2 separate regions of the Homo sapiens genome follow, and region 2 is linked to region 1. Evidence: promoter capture Hi-C in human tissues and cell types (Jung and others, 2019). All regions are on one chromosome and are shown on one strand. Each heading gives the region's core, a stretch centred on a gene start or on the middle of the fragment in contact. The rest is flanking DNA. Distances are from core to core; before and after follow the strand shown. Region 1 holds the start of CEP192 (centrosomal protein 192). Region 2 overlaps LDLRAD4 (low density lipoprotein receptor class A domain containing 4).

What was found. The method cuts DNA at HindIII sites, captures the fragments that hold promoters and counts their contacts. A contact is called where the count stands out against the background at its distance.
Region 2: a contact is called between a fragment that was not itself captured here and the fragment with the promoter of CEP192 in region 1, in 1 of the 25 tissues and cell types used here (dorsolateral prefrontal cortex).

The regions. Positions count from the first base shown.
Region 1 is chr18:12,989,870-12,993,500 of GRCh38, forward strand. It overlaps CEP192 (centrosomal protein 192), which reads left to right and starts at 1,493. Exons shown (of 45, transcript NM_032142.4): 1 at 1,493-1,568. RefSeq lists enhancers at 1-424, 815-1,194 and a silencer at 1,675-1,754. The HindIII fragment of the contact is 10,836 bases long and covers 1-3,631 here.
Region 2 is chr18:13,379,848-13,384,004 of GRCh38, forward strand. The region is part of intron 2 of LDLRAD4 (low density lipoprotein receptor class A domain containing 4); the gene reads left to right. Among named protein-coding and RNA genes, the nearest start is that of LDLRAD4-AS1, 46 kb to the right of the region's middle. RefSeq lists enhancers at 1-470, 471-970, 1,662-2,286. The HindIII fragment of the contact is 4,118 bases long and covers 1-3,674 here.

The DNA.
Region 1 (3,631 bases), core at 243-2,742:
TGAGATTTTCTGCATTTATCTTTGCTCACTGAGTGTGGACAAAGGTAGAATAAAGGTAATTACTCTTTGCAAATACCAAGGCTGCAGGGTTCCAAGAAGAGGTGTCGAACTGTGGAGATATCACTGAGTTTGACAATTAGGAGTCTATTCCTGATAAAGTTTTAAGGACCCAGCTAGACACCATGAAATGCGTCAAAATAAGGTGTAAAAAGTGGAAGCCTGGCTTCCTCTATGGAAAAAAAAGTGGAGACCATTAAGGGAAGGAAACAAGAATGGTCATTAGGTGATGAAACAGAATCAAGGAAGGGGTGTGTGTGGGTGTGTGGTTTGAGTGGTGTTTGTGTGTGGAGGGTGTGTGTGGTGTGTGGGTGATGTGTATGTGGGTGTGTGTTGTGTATGGATGTGTGTATACGTGTCACACACGTGTGTGTGGTGCATATGTGGGTGTGTGTGGTTTGTGGTGTGAGTGGTGTGTGTGGTGTATGGGTGTGTGGTGTGTGTGTTTGGGTAGAGAGGTGCTGCATTTTTGTAGGCAGAGAGAAGGAAACCAGTGGAGAGGATATCCAAGAATGACAGGTGAGCCATGTTTGCAGGAGGTAGAAAGTGGTCAAGTAAACAGACGTCTTTCCCCACCAAGTAACCTCAGGTCTAGGGACTTCTAAACTTTGCGTTTTCCCTCTTCTTTCCTCCAAGGTGCGCCGGACATCTTTCAGTAACTTGAACGAAGTTAAGGAGTTAGCTTTGGAAAAGAGGGACTCTTTTCCCTCTGTGACTATATGGAATAAATTTTGAGATAAGGGACCTTACTGAAAAAGACTGAGATACATTTTGAGTGAAAGGCATGGTCTCAGTGAAGTAGTTAAGGGCCTGTGCCGAGCAGATGGCGGTGATGGGTTTTGTGGCCTAAGAAGGATGGAGAAAAGTAGGAAGCAATCGAGACAAAGCCTACTCTGTCACAAAGAGGCGACTAGATGTGGCGAAATGTCATGAAACTTGGATCCCGAGGAATTAGCTGATTGAAGGTGAAACCTGACGCCTTTCAGCGCCTACCAACAGGAAAGGTCTGCATCTGCCCACGGAAGGACGAAACCTATCGGGGGGGATTTGTTGGCGGGGGATACTTCTTTGCGCATAGAGTGACTGGCGGTGCCCTGGAGACCCAAACTGAATAAAGTAAGCATTATTTTCAAATTCGCCAAGACCTTGAAGGCGGCGCCAACGGGAGCCGTCCCCCGGGTCCCACGCAGCGCAGAGCTCCATTTCCTCCTCCGGACTCGCAGGGCGCGCGGCTTCCTCGCTTCAAATCCAGGAACGCGCTGTCCCCACCAATCACCGGGCTTCTTCCCGCCCCATGTCTTCCCGCTGTCCAATCAAAAGCCAGCTCAGTCTCCTCCCCTTGCCTGGTGCCGCGAACAGACGTAAACCAGAGGCGGGCGCGGTACGGCCGTTCCGGGCTCCAGCCGGTGCGGGGGCCACGCGCACGCGCACTTGCAGTGCCCTGGGACACCTCTTCAGTCCGTGGACTTTCCCGCTGCACACTGCCCTCCGAAGTCGGGGACGCGGGCTCGGTGAGGGGGGACGCTGGTGCCTCGGCCTGCGCCTAGGCGGGAGGCAGACGCATGCACCTTTGGCCTACGTTTCGGCTGCCGGACCGACGGGACAGTGACGGTTGGGCCGGGTGGGGGCGCAGGCTGTGGGGCGGCCTCAGGGCGCGAGCAAGGGGACTGCCGCGCTTCCCGCGCCTCTGCGCCTGGCGCAGCCTCTGAGCTGAGCTCCGCCTGGTTGGGATTAATTGCACGCCTCTGTGTCATCGGGCTTTGGCCGGGCGTGATGAGACAGACTGTTAGGGGATCACGTCCTTCTTTCCTCCCCTCTTGTCTGGGGACTTCCACCTCTTGAGGGACAGGCCCTCTCCGTGCTACCCTCTGGAGTTTCTTGCAGTGTGCTTGTGAAGTGACCGGTGATGTTTCCTTTATGTGCCCTGTGATGGGCGGTTCTGTTCCTCCTTTTTGTTTAAAATTCTGACCCAGGAAGTAACCTTGTTAACTTAACTTAATGCCCTTGTCTTCCGTTTACTCACTTGATTTGGTTTCTGCTAGGTTGCGTTCATTTATTCCTAATAGTTTACCTACATTCCTTGCCTATGATTTCATTATCAACAGAACGTGAAATGAGACGAATGTTAATACACTCTACTTTTACTTTGCTGTTACTTTCAGAGTTTGTTTAGTAAAACATGAGGACCTCTTCAAGTCAGTCGTTTGGAGAACAGCTGTTTATATGACCATATTTCCATTTGCTCTTACTATTTTGAGGTCATTCGACTGGCGTTTTTACTGCTCCAAAATCAACTTTTTCTCCAAATTTCAGTTTTCTAGGCAAAAACGGCAAGCCTTGAACAATAATATACCAAATGCCTACCTAGTTTTAAAGTATATCTTAAAGTGCCAAGAGTAAATGATGAGTTTTGGGGAAGTTTGACTCGGCTTTGGGTTCCACGGCGTGTGCTTTTAAATGTGTTTAATTGTATACATAGACCTACGATTAATGACTATAGTCAGTAATCTTTTATGTACCTAGGAATGTAATTAGTGAGTCCAGATGTGAAATTTGAGGTCACTACTTTAAGGAAATAGCAAGAGAAATTGCAAATATAGCCACTCAGTTCAAATAGGATAGAAGAAAAATATTGTCTTCACTTGAGATGATGGAGGAGGGGTGGGTAATGCAATAATGTGAGAAATTAAAGGAAATTTCCTTTAGGAATGTGTTATGTCCATGAATGGTTTACAAGTGTAATCTTTTCTGGAGAAGAGACTAGGTATTAGGTTACATCTTGAGGAATCTTCCCGTGGGTTTTGTTACCTTTGCACCCTTAGCAAAGCTCTGTTGAAGCACTTAACACTATCGTAGTTGACAGGGATTGTCAGCTCCCTGAGGGGAGCTGCCTTATTTATCTTTGCATTCTTGGTGCCAAGTAGAGGGTTCTTCATGGTTTGTGTTTGATAATGAATGTTGCATGAATGACCTTTGCATAATTTCTGAGTTTTCTTTGGATTAGGCCCTTCTAAATAGGGACAACTGTTGAAGAGTTTTCTATAAATTTTAATAGTTTACATGTCTGTATATGAATGAATAACTTAGTAATTACAAGGCTAGACTTGGGGAGGCTAGTTGGGAGACTCGTGTGATAGTTCAGAATAAAAAGTGATGGGCAACGGGCATTAGGAATATAGAAGTGGGTCTCAGCTCCAGAAGTGTATTTGACGTTAGAAGCATTAGAATTTGGTGAGAGAGCAGGAGGGATCAGGATGGTCCTAGGTGTCAGGCTTGTATTGCCAGTTAATAGGGATGGATTTGGGTGAAGACTAAAGATAACGGCGGGAATGAATGGAGGAAAGGTAACAAGTTTGGTTTTGTATTTTGTATTGCATTCGGGGGTAAGGTAGATGTCAGAGAGCCATTTGGAAGTATGGTCGTTCCCTCAGGTTATCCATGGGATTGGTTCCAGGACCTGCCCTTGCCCCAGGATGCCAGAATCCTCTGGATGCTCAAGTTCCTTACATAGATTGGTGTAGTATTTACATATAACTGATGCATATGCTCCTGTATATTTATTTAAGACAGGGTC
Region 2 (4,157 bases), core at 366-2,865, 390 kb after region 1:
TTGTTAGCCTATGGTCTGACCCCCTTCTTGTTTGCCTGTCATGCCCATTTTAAGCTGATTTTATCTGAAGAAAGCTGGAGTGGGGGAGATCCCTGGGTGTGGAGGATTGCAGAGGCCTGCCCCTGCCCGCCAGCCCCCTGCCCGCCAGCCCCCTGCCCGTCAGCCCGAGCCCTCACGCCAGGCCACAGTGGGAGCAGAACCTCTACGGGGGTGGGGCTGGGTTGGGAGGGGCATTGCCGCTGCTTGGCTGGTGGCCACAGTGGAGGTGTCTGTGATGTGCTCAGACCGGGCTCAGACCAGAATGCACGTCTGCTCAGGGATCATCTGCCCCTGGGCCAAGCCCTGACCCTTTCCCATTCCCTTGTGCATGTGGGTGCTGTGGGAATGGCCTGGTTCGGGCCCTGGAAAGCAGAGATCTTCCCAGTATTCCCTGATTCCCAGCGAGCGGCTGGTGCAGGTGTGCACGGCTGTCTTCCTAGCATTGCAGGCTCTCCCTCCTGAGCCAGTGTCTCCTGTGGCCGCTGTGTGTAGACAGTGGAACTGGAAGCTTGGGCCAGGATCCAGACACCTGGTTCCAGCCCTGGCTTGCATTCCTCCCACACTCATCTTCAACCTGTCCCCTCTCCCTGAGCCTCTGGATCGCCTCCTCCACAAAGCACAGGGGTCGGATATATGACTCCTTGCGGCTTCCTCTGCTGCTAGATCATATGAGTCGATAATTATAGACTTACTAATGCATTAAGGACAGTTATCCTGTTTATTTTAGGGGGAACTCTCTCCAACTTGGTTTGAATATAGCCTCAGGATTTATCAAGTGTTGGATTTGTCAAGGTGACATTTTAAAGAATGTTCTAATATAATTATTGCTTTTCCTGTTTGCAGCCTGTGTGTGTCTTTGAATCGATGTTTTGGGTTTTGTACTTGCTTCCTGAATTGGTGACCTACAGCAAGGCACTACGCTACCCTGAACTACATTATGCTGAACAAGTAACCAGATCCCACTGAGCTACCCAGGGTGAGGATGGCTTGGAGGTTGTGTTACAAAAGCTACATGTTATTTTGCCCCCCCACATCACAGAGATGAAAAGTAGCATGAAAAATTCATCACACTCCAACTCAGTCTTCCCTGGCTATAGGCAGCCTGTTTCTCTGACTTGCTCTCAGATTTGCATTTCCATGTGGATTTTCTGTGCTTCTGCACTGTGTCCCTTTCTTTTGTTTCTCTTTAGTTTTTTTTTTTTTTTTGAAGAGACAGGGTCTTGCTATGTTGCCCAGGCTGGAGTGCAGTGGTGCAGTCACAGCTCACAGCAGCTTTGAACTCATGGGCTCAAGCAGTCCTCCTGCCTCAGCCTCCCCAGTATAGGTGTGCACAGCCATGCCCAGCTAATTTTTATATTTTTAGTAGATATGGGGACTTTCTATGTTGGCTAGGTGGGTTTCAAACACCTGGGCTCAAGCAATCCTCCTGCCACAGCCTCCCAAAGCACTGGGGTTACAGGCGTGAGGCACCGTGCCCGCCCACTGTATCCTTTTTTATGCCCATTTGCCCTCTCTCTCGGCCAGAGACATGGCCATAGGGGACTTTTTGGAATGGGAGGGACCTCCAGTTTCACCTCCTCATTGTATAAAAGAGGAGATGGGAGCCAGGGCCGGGAGTCACCACGGGTACCAGAAGCAGAGTGGGTCCCCTACCTGGGGCTCTCTGCCTACGGCTGGCTGCCTGGAGGCAGAGGTGTTTTATTTGTAGCACCTCCTTTTCTTTACTGTTAGGAGATCTTGAGACTGACTGGCCGTTGCCAAGGTCTGCACTATCCATGAGCTCTGAGGCACTCACATGGAGACGTGTGACATCTCCCTTGGTGGGACACCTGGTCCCAGCTCAAGTTGGAAATAGCTTCTCAAGGGTCTTTTCCCCACTTTTTCTCCCATCTGTCTCATGACAAGCCCTTTGCCTCTTTGATCCTAAATGAACATAGGGTGAGATGATGCATAGGTGAGCTGTGCCGTGCAGCTCTCAAACATGGTCATTTTTATTTTTTTTAAATTTTGCAGCAGAGCCCCAGTTTGCCGAGGTTTAGAATGACCTCTTTGGTTGGCAGCGTTCCTTTCTCCCTGGAACTTCTCTGGTGGGTAGAGTGGCCAGGGATCGGCATCCACAGGCCGGGGCTCGGCCCTGAGCGTCTGTGGGGCCTGGAGCAGTCGCCATGGCTGTGGAGCTGTCACCTAGGTAACCGACATTCCGCCAGCGAAACAGTCTGTCCACAGCAGGAGGAAATAAAAAATGAAACTGCAGCGTCAATTCTTTATGCACTACGGTTTTTTGAGTGCTACTTTGATTTTGGAAAAAAGGCTGTTTCACTTCTCCATTGGATTTTGGCCTCCGTGCCCCTGTGTGACCCTCACATTTCCTGAACCCCATGTATCTGTTTTTACAGTGTCTTTTAATGAAAGATATAATACGGACACAGTTCAGTTTGTATTCCTGAATGACTCTGAGGAGGACTGCGTTTCATATAAGTTTTTGTGAATAACTGGTAAGGCAGACATACCCTGTAACTTACTTGGTTAGGTTTGTGAGTGTTCATGTTTTTAAAATGTCCCTTCCTGTGGGGGTGTTTTTCCATTTGACGTGCTCTATTTCCTTAGTAACTGTTGCTCTGTTATGGGAGGGACTTAATGACATTTTTCAAGTGCAATATTGAATTAATTTATTTCCTGGTTAGTCCTGCCCATCTTCCCAGTATAAATAGAACCTCCATGTGTGTGTGCGTGTGTGTGTGCGTGTGTGTGCGTGTGTGCATGTGTGTGCGTGTGTGTGTAGAATGATGACCATGTGCTTGCTGCCTTGGGGGGGATCTTGACTGTGACCTTGCGTCCTGGGTAAGTTGCCTCTTCCTGTATTCCCCCCTCTCCTTCTCTCTTGATTTAAGCTACTTGGGTTTAGGGAGCTTCCTGGGCCTCAGGAGTAGCATGGGAAGCAGTGCCTTCAGGGCAAGAGGCCCAGGGTCAGTCCTGCTCTCCTGCTGCCAGTGTTGGGCGCAGTTCTTGCGCCTCCATGGGGCAGCGCTTGCTCTCTCTCTGTAGCCTGAGGGCATTTAAGTCAATGACCTCTGAAGGCCTTTGCTGGATAGGACTTTGTGGGAAGTGTAAGTGCAGCAGGCTCACCACTTGTAATCATCATCTCAACTCTTCTAGTGGGGTGGTGGGAAAACCAGCCCGGAGGGTCCCAGCCAAGCAGGCTGAGGAGCAGCACCTCCACCTGGGAAATGCCCCTTGCCAGGCGCAGCTAGGGCTGGGTTAATTGTGTAGGTGTTTGCTGAGCCTTCTCTGCGCTGTGTATAGTACTCAGGGAAGCTTCACGTAAGTGTCTTCCTTCACTCATGTGTTCGCTCAGGAAATACGTATTTACTGGGCACCTGCTGGGTGCCAAGGGGAACTGGAGGATCTGCTGGCCACTGCCTTTGCTCTCATGGCACTTGTGGGGGAGACGGGCAGGCATGGTGCAATCAGGACACCCGTGTGGAGTCGCAACTGCAGATGTTTTGGGAAGCCGACCAGGTGCTGCGGGTTGTGTAGCAGGGTCTGGACTTAGACTGGGGGCCATCAAAGAAGCATCTCCAGGGAGGGTTGTTTGGGCTGAGACTGGAAAGCTGAGTGGCAGCTCATGAGCAGGAGGCTCACGAGAGCAGAAGATTGGAGGGACGGCCGGCAAGCAGCGTTTGTTCAGCTCCTCCAACTTTTACCCTTCCACGTGTTTGCTCCACAGATGCCCAGCATGGCTGTGCTGATTGCTGGTTGGTTTCTAAACTAAAAGCACACGTCTTGTCCAGAACAGGGCCTGCAGGCTTCTGCTGACTGTGCTGGCCCTCAGAGTTTTCTCTGGGTCCTGATCACCCACCCTGCGCTGCCTGTTGGTCACCTGACACACTTACTGAGTGCCGCTGGGTTCTGGCCCCTTCTGGGTGGTCACAGTCTTTCACTGAGCAGAACGAAGCTTGCACCTCTGCTGCGTATTCCTAGAAAGGGTAGCTAATCTTTGTTGCTAGCAGTGAGAAAGAAGACTTTTTACAGCATTTATAATTGCATTTTACCTTGAAAATTGCATTGGGGGAGACTCAGAGTGTATATAGGAATAGGCACGTTATCCATTGATGCGG